2 separate regions of the Homo sapiens genome follow, and region 1 is linked to region 2. Evidence: promoter capture Hi-C in 16 types of primary human blood cells and fetal thymus (Javierre and others, 2016). All regions are on one chromosome and are shown on one strand. Each heading gives the region's core, a stretch centred on a gene start or on the middle of the fragment in contact. The rest is flanking DNA. Distances are from core to core; before and after follow the strand shown.

Region 1 (4,193 bases), core at 1,479-3,978, 200 kb before region 2:
GCATCTCCTGACCCTCTTTTTTTACTGTGGTGTCGTGAACATTAGGGCTTTTATAAGCCATAGATACAAATGGTGGGCCAGGGCCCTCTCTGTTTTAAGATATTTGTCAGTTTTCAGTGATGGGGTTATTTGGCAAATTGGTTTTGGGCAAATTGACTTTGAACAACTTTTCAGTGTGAAGAGTGTATGGCAGGGGCTGGAGGAGCCAGGATGGGAAGACAGATTGGGAACCGGCGGGGAGCCAGGCAGGAGCTGTGGCCAGAAGTCCCGGCTGAGGCCTCAGGCTTGCTGGGCCACCAGGTTTGTGCGTGGCCTGGCTGGGAGGCACATGGTGTTCTTTTCCCTCCTTGGTGTCAGAGGTGGGGCAGCATGGCAGATCTTGGGGACCTGGTGATCTGGGGAAGGCAGTGTGTGGGTGTGGGTGGTGGGTCTGGAGTGGGGATAGGGCCTCGGGCACAGGCAGGAGTCCTGGCTGGCTGCAGCCCAGTCCCTGGAGGAGAGGAAATGGTGGGTGCAGCATGGAATGAGCTCAAAGAGGCGGGTGCAGCAGTACACCCTTCCCAGGGTGCTTTCCCCCTGCCTTTTGGTTAAAATCTGCCAGTGTCTTCTGGGCCCCTGCTGGATCAGGAAGGAGGGAAGAGCTTGGGGGCTGGGTGACAAGACCTGCTTGGGTCCTTCCTCTACGGCCAGCCCCTTGGTTGCGTGGTCTCTGGCAAGTTACCTCACTTCTGAGCCTTCATTTGAGTATCTATAAAGTGGAGAGAATTAAACATGCCTCGCTGGGTTTTTGTGAAAAGTAAACGATATTAGTTGTGAATCACCAAGTGCAATGCCTGGCACATAGCAGGCACTTAGTGTGTGCTCGAGTTCCTGCTTTTCCCCAAGAATTTCCTCCTTTCCTTGACTTGTGCTCATGTCTTATTTTACGTAAGTAGCCATGGAAGCATATCAGCTTCACCTACTAGACTTTAAGCTTCCTGAGCCAGAACCCATTTTTATATTCCCCAGCATCTGGCACAAAATTGTGTACATGTTAAGTGATCGATAAAAATTAAAACAAATTTTTTGGATTTTATCGCAAGCCTTTGGGAAGGGATTGTCTTTTGAGTGGATAAATCATATTCGCCACTAGGGTGCACAGTAAGACTTAATATAAGCAGCTCATCCAAGCTTCTAGAATGTGGAAGAATCCTTGATTCAAGGTAACATTTACTGAAAAATGATTTCTTTCTGATCAGGAGAAAAACAACACAGTCCAACTTATTAATCTAAAGAACATGGAGTGCCAGTTCCTTCATATCCTTAAAACGTAGCTTCGGAATTCATACATTTCAACTGGACACATTACAGTGGAAAGATACTTATTTTAATATGTTCTAAATGTTCTGTGAGCTGTAAAATATGCTTTTATTAGTTTTGAAAAATTTACAGCTAGAGAAATTAAGTAAAATAAAACAATGACTCATAATTCTGCACCGCTGCTCTTTCCTGACGATCCCTTCCTCCCCTTGTCTGTGAACGTGCTTGTTTTTTTCATAGCTGTGATCCCAGCACGGATACCCTTTTATATACTCTTTTCATCTCCCAGTGAACTCTTTTGGCTTAACGTGTTTGAACACCCACTGCACGTAAAGGTAGAAATTCAGACTTTGATGCCTTTTTTTGAAGGAAAACATGTACGTGGCCTGCGTTAACCAAAAACACAACCAGCCGTTATTGAATGCTCCCATGTACAGAACCCTCTGCCAGGCACTGAGAGGGAGTCCCAAAGGAATAAGACCTTTGGGTGGGTGACAGAAGACCCACCAGGGACCTTCTGTACCTGTATGAAAACCTGCAGTTCTGAAACACAGAAGGTTTTTAAAGAAAATATATGAATTAGATGTTGTTTATTTGCTTTACAGAATAATTTGCTCTAGAAATTCTTTCAGTAACAAGCTTCCTTAAAATACTTTGAAAAAAAACCTTTTAATTTTTGACCATGAATGTAATAGATGCTTATTGTGAAAAACTTTAATGATGCAGGAAATATGAAGTATGAAGGAGAAACAGAAATCATTGATAACTCCCAACCCCAAGTCAGTGCCTCATTAACATGAGGGGCCTCCCTGGTCGGGGGCCCTACATTCCTATCTGTTTACATAATTGGGCTTATTGCATAGTATGTGCAGTTTTGAATTCTTCCTCTGCTGCCCAATCTTCTGTAACGTGTAAGGGGAATTTTTCTACCTTATTAAAAACTTTTCCCCAAATATATTTTTATAACTGTCTCAAGTTTCATACTTTGCTCCATCATTTCCATGTTGTTTCCTATAATTTCCTGCTTTTGTTTAAAAAATAATCAGTATTACAGTGAATATGGCTATACATAAATATTGTCTTTTTTTGCTGCCTTAATGCAGTTAAGATGGGCTTTGAGGCCAGGCGCGGTGGCTCATGCCTGTAATCCCAGCACTTTGGGAGGCCGAGGCAGGCGGATCACGAGGTCAGGAGATTGAGACCATCTTGGCTAACATGGTGAAACCCCGTCTCTACTAAAAATACAAAAAATTAGCCGGGCGCGGTGGTGGGCGGCTGTAGTCCCAGCTGCTCGGGAGGCTGAGGCAGGAGAATGGCATGAACCCAGGAGGCGGAGCTTGCAGTGAGCCCAGATCGCACCACTGCACTCCAGCCTGGGTGAAAGAGCGAGACTCCATCTCAGAAAAAAAAAGAAAAAGATGGGCTTTGATTTACACCCAGGCATTAGCTAAAGCCCTTGTGTGTGGTGAGAGTGGGACCTGATTAGATTGGCAAACCTTCAGTACCACTGTTGTACTCCTTGGCTCCCATGCCAAATCTTCTGCTTGGTAGCTGTGTGACTTTGGGAAAATCACTTAGCCTCTCTGATCCCCTAGTTCCTCACTGGTAAAATGGGGATAATTGGTAAATGGCCACCAATTAAGGTTGTTGCTGTAGAGCTGAAATGAGAAGATCCAGCCTAGTGCCTGACAAGGGAGAGGCTGAGGAAGCATGTTTCTGATTCCCCTGTACCTGTCTTGATTAGTTATAAAACAAAGTGTAGAAAAGACAAATCACCCAGAATCCTCCAACTTACTGTAACTCTTGTTTTTTGTGAATCTTTTCATTGTCTCTATGCACACGTTTTTAAAGCGTTTCAATCTCAGTGTTCTTGAGATAAATACTTTTAGAATCTAAAGAGTTTGAGGATTGTCTGTGCCAAGCCATTCATGCACTCCCTTTTCATGTACTGAACACTTGGCAGGTCTGTGTTGGAGAGCTGGTTCCCTGTCCCCAAAGTGGTCACATTTAAAGCATGGATGAGAGGATGGAGAGCGCTAGCCATTGCTGAGTGCTTACCATGTACTAGGCATGTTCTAAACGCTCCGTCTCCTCTTCATTACAGGCCTGAGAGGCCACTTCTGTCCTCATTCCCATTTTACAGATGAGGAAATTGAGGCACAGAGAGGTCAAGAGACTTGTCCGTGGTCACACAGCTAGTAAATGATAGAGGCAAGCAGGGAAGCTTCAGACTCAGAGCCTGAGCAGAAAGAGCTACCACCACTCACGCTGCCCTCCTGCCTCTGAGAATAAGGGATGGAAAAGCGCATCCCCTTCACCCAGGTGGTGTCCAAGCTCTATCCCAGCTTCCAAATTTTGTGGTTCTGTTAAGGGACATACAGAGAAGAGATGATTTCTGGGGTGGTTTGGATTTGCATTTTTATGTATCACAGGATCCTGTTGATTTATCATTGTTAGTGAATCTGATTACATTAAGATATCTTAGATGTGCTTTGTAGAAAGTGATCTATTTCACATTCAAAGACAAGGGATTTATGGCTCTAAGTGCCAGAGTGAGGGTTTATTTCAGTTTTGAAAGAATTATTCTTGATGGATTTTACAAAATGAGATTGAGAAATGATTTGATGTGTGGAGTGAGGAGTTGTGGAGCATTATGCAGATGATTGGCAATTTATTCTAAGCACGAGGCAAATCTATTGGCAATGAGAGGCGCAGCTGGGAAGGAGGTTTGGGTGGTGGTAGTGGGCCTTTGGTATTTGGGGAGTGAATGATTAACAGTGCATCCAGGGTAATTAGATGAAGGTGAGGAGAGAATTGGTGATGTGTGTGTGCGCATGTGCGTGCATGCATAGCGTTCATCTGGTTCATTTGATAGAGGCCCATAGAGGGGAAGA
Region 2 (4,126 bases), core at 115-2,614:
CAGGCAGAGCCACCCCCAACGGCCAGTTGCCCCTGCTGGCAAGACCAAGGCCAGCCTGGCAGGGCTGCACACCGCAGTTTGTTAGGGGCTTCTGCCCACAGTCCTCGTGGGAGCCTGGCCCTGGGAGTAGTGGGGGTCTCTGCTGCTCTTGGCAGGCAGAGGAACTAGGGTCCAGAGAAGGAAAAGAACCTGTCCATGGCCTCCAGAGAGCCAGAGCACTGGGGCCTCCGACGGAGCCTGGCTGTGGAGACCCCGCCCCACCCATACCCCCAGGGCCTGGACCCCCAGTCTGCACTGGCGGCCGACCTTGGCCATGCGGACTTTGCACGTGCAGTGCTCCCTATCCATCCGGCCCCGCTCCCGGGTGCCCACTCTGCTCCCATTCTGCCGGCTCAGGAGACTCCAGCGCGTCGCCCACGCTGTTCCTGCCCTGAGGAAACCACATTGGGGATGGGGTGGGGCACAGACGAGGAAGGAAACACCTCTAAACCAAGCAGGAAGCGGAAACGCTGGGGCAGAAATTCCCATCCAACGTGCTGGGGCTCAGGGAGGGTGAGCGCGCCGGCTGAGCCGCTCTGGGCGAGGCCCTGGCCTCCCTGAGCCTCAGTTTCCTCGCCTGTAAAGGGGCAGGAGGATAGTACCTGCCGCGAGGTACTGAATGGGATGGTGGTGTCCGAGGTTCGTGCGCGCCCACGCGCTGCAAACGCTCAATGAGGCGGCCCCGGGTCCAGCCTCCTTCCGGCTCCCGGGCCTTTCTCCGGCCTCCCAAGCAGGGGCTGGCCCTGCCCCCAGACGCAGGCGGGTCCAGGCCTGCCCGCACCCTCGCCACCCGCCCGGGACAGCGGCGGGTCCCCAGTCCTCCGGCCGCGCCCTTGGTCACCCGTCCCTCCTTTCCTTCCGCCGCAGGGGCGCGCGTGTCAGGGCGCAAGGACCCCGCGATAGGACCCGGGCGCTCCCGGCGGCGCGCGGAGGCTGGGCATCCCCGCCCCACCCGAGAGTGCCCAGTTCCCAGGAGACCCGGCCCGGCTCCTCCCGGGCCAGTGAAGCCTCCACGGCGGGGGCGCAGCGCGGAGGGGAGCGGGGCGGGGGGCCGGCCACCTCCCGCGCTGAGCAGGGACCGCCCCAGGCGTGGGTGGCGCCCGCCCCGCCTCCGCGCCCGCGCCCGCGCCCTGCCCTCCCGGCTCGCAGGTACTCACCGCCCGGCGCAGCCGGCCCGGCCGGCGACCGCCAGTCCACATGGCCCCAGGGCAGCCGCGCCGCTCACCGCCGCCGCCGCTACCGCCGCCCCCTCCCCTCCGAGGCCGAGCGCGCCGGGAGCCGGCGCGGCCGGGGCTCCCCCACCCCGCCCGGCTTCCCGCAGGGAGCGCCCGCCCCCCGCCCCCAGCCCGGCTCCCCGCCAGCCCCGGCCCCGCGCAGCCGCGGCTGAGCCCGCGCGTCCTCCCGGCAGCGCCCGGCCGGGGCGCAAGTGGTGGGCGCAGGGCCGGGCAGGGGCGCGGGGGTGCGGCGTGCGCGGGGGCCAGGCGAGGAATGGCAGAGGGGCAGGGAATGAATGAACCCGCGCCAGCTTGAATGGCTGAGCGCGTGAATGAATGAGTGCGGTAGAGCATGCGGGGCTGGGGGGGCGGGGGGAATGAATAAATGAGAGAACTAATGCACGGGCGCGAAGGTGAGTGACAGAGTGAATGGGCCCTTGAAACCCAGAGGCTGTCAGTAATGACCTGCCCAACCTTTTCATCGGTCCATCCATTCAATCCCTCAACATTTATTAGACACCTAGTGTGTACCAACCAGCCCTGCTGTAGGCCCCAGGGGGTACAGTAGCGAGTGAAACCAAGCTCCTGCCCTCGCAGAGTCACATTTTACAGATGAGGAAACCCTGGCTCCCAAGGGTGCCTCCTGGCCAAGCTGCCCCTTACCCTGCCCTTGCTCTGCCCGAGCCCCCAGTCGGTGGCTTCCAGGGCTTGCCTTCTCCCCAAGGAGCTCTCAGGAAGGGAAGGTGGCTTCAGGAGGACCAGTGTTGCCCCCTGCCTATCCCTCCAGTCTGAAGCATCCCACCGACCTGCCCGGTAGAGCCCAGGCTGGCCAGTCCTACCCTGGTAAAGGTGCAGCGTGAACCCTCCTCTCTCCTCCCAGAGCGGGCAAGGGGCAGCCCTGAGGGTGCCAGCTACATGAGGGTCTTCCATCCCAGCCAGCCCAGCAGCAGCCAGCGTGGGAACCCGGGGAGGAGCACTGGCAGCCAGGGAGGGTCCTGCGTGGTGGAAACAGAGCTGGCAAAGCCCGTGTGCTTCGCTCATATCCTCCCTCGGGACCTATGGGCTCATGGTTCACACATGCTTATATCATTTCCAAGTACATGGCAGATTAGAAGATGCTGCGAATGAGTACCTTGTATATTTTTGTTTTTTAATTGTGGAAAACATGGAAAACATAAAATTTACCATTTTAACCACTTTTAAAGTGTACAGTTTGGGGACACTGAGTTCCCACTGTTGAGCTGCCATCACCACCATCCTTATATGCTGTATGTTGTATGCTTTGCAGTTTCTACGCTCTCTCATTTAATCTGGGGAGTAGGTTGCTACATTCAGGCAGTGTCAGTGCTGAGAAAAGGCACTGATAGCAAGGCAAGAGGGGAAACCCAGAAAAAAAGGAGACAAGCAAAAGAACCAGCAGCTGACTGGAGCCACTTCGTGTCAAGCAAAGTCCTGTCTCTGCTCCCTCTCAGGTCCCAGGGACATGATTGGGTAACCAATGGACAGAGGGAGGCGCCTCCAAGTGCACCCCACCACAGTCAAGACAAAATGAGAGGCGGCAGCTCAGGGCGGGGCTCTCCCAGTTTGGGCGAAGCGTGGACAGACTTCGCCCAAACCGTCGCTGGTGTGCACCACGGGACCAGCCTCTTTGCTCAAGGGGGCCTTAGTCTCCCCAGCAGGAGTAGGGACAGGCTCCCTGACCTCCACTCTGGCCTCTCAGGTTCAGACACCATTCAGGCAGCACACAGCAGTGGAGGCATCCTGTGAGAGGTAGTGAGGCCCAGCCTGCCAGCTCCAGTGTCCCTTCCCTCCCCAGTCCCTAAGGGGACAAACACCAATGGGGGATGTGGAACCTGGGGTACAGGCAGGGCTCTGCCCACATTGCCTCCTCCTGGGCTGCGGCCCTTCCCCAGAGGCTGGTCCTGCTCAGATGGTGCCAGAATGTTCACCGCCCGCCCTGGCACTGCTGCTGCCAACGCCACAGATGGCTGGGGAGGCGGGGGAGGGGCGGGTGGGGTGGGGGCGGCTCCTGCTTCAGCTCCAGCAGCTTGCAGGCTTCAGCTCAGGCCTGCCTGGGAAGGCCCCAGGAGAGCCCCTCCCCCATGCTGCACGCACCTCCCGTCCCCACCCTCCCTGCCCTCTCTTCTATCCTTCCCACTCCAGCCCCCTTAAGCTAGGAAGGCGGAGAGAAAGCAGGCATTGGTTGTGGGTCTGGGAGCATCCCTGCAATGCCCCTGTAGGGGAAGTGGTACTAGCCCCTTTTTGCAGATGGGGAAACTACAGTCAGTGCAGCAGAGCCTGGGGCATCAGGCAGGCTTCCTGGAGGAGGCAAGGTTTCAGCCGGGTTGGGAAGAAGGGATGAAAGTGGCAGGACTTCGAGGTGATGCCCTGGGGCCATGGAGGACCCTCTCCTCAGGCCCCTGCCCTCATTCAGACCTCTACGGACCACTCTGTTTGACATCACCATCCCCATGGCTCAATCTCGTTGCCCTATTTTGTTTTTTGCGTGTCTCTTACTGCGTTCCAGAGCTATCTGATCTGTCTGTTGATGTGGACATCAATCTCCCCGCTGGGATGCGTGGTCCTCTACTGTGGTCAGGGAGCAGGGCAGGAAGTGGCACCACACTGGGGCTCATGGTTAAATGTGCCAAAGAATGCATGGATGGATGGAGGTGGGGGAGATAGGAATAGCCTGGTGTGATGCCAGGCTTCTGGCCCTGGTGGCTGAGTATAAAAGAAAGGACAGCACGTCAGGGAAGTCATTGACAGTGAGGCACCCGCAGACAGCCACATACAGGGGCTCCAGCATCAGCTAGCCATGCTGACCAGTTCCCTGCCTCATCTTCCAATCCCCACCCACAAGAACAGATTGA

What was found. Contacts are between HindIII fragments. The CHiCAGO score rates a contact against its expected background, and 5 or more counts as called.
Region 1: a contact is called between a fragment that was not itself captured here and the fragment with the promoter of BEGAIN in region 2, in 4 of 17 cell types (megakaryocytes, M0 macrophages, total CD8 T cells and 1 more). The highest score is 6.4, in megakaryocytes.

The regions. Positions count from the first base shown.
Region 1 is chr14:100,384,194-100,388,386 of GRCh38, forward strand. The region is part of intron 2 of WDR25 (WD repeat domain 25); the gene reads left to right. Among named protein-coding and RNA genes, the nearest start is that of WDR25, 9.8 kb to the left of the region's middle. The HindIII fragment of the contact is 1,585 bases long and covers 1,937-3,521 here.
Region 2 is chr14:100,586,053-100,590,178 of GRCh38, forward strand. BEGAIN (brain enriched guanylate kinase associated) reads right to left here and starts at 1,365. Exons shown (of 7, transcript NM_001385089.1): 1 at 1,197-1,365. The coding sequence starts at 1,238. The HindIII fragment of the contact is 6,858 bases long and covers 1-4,126 here.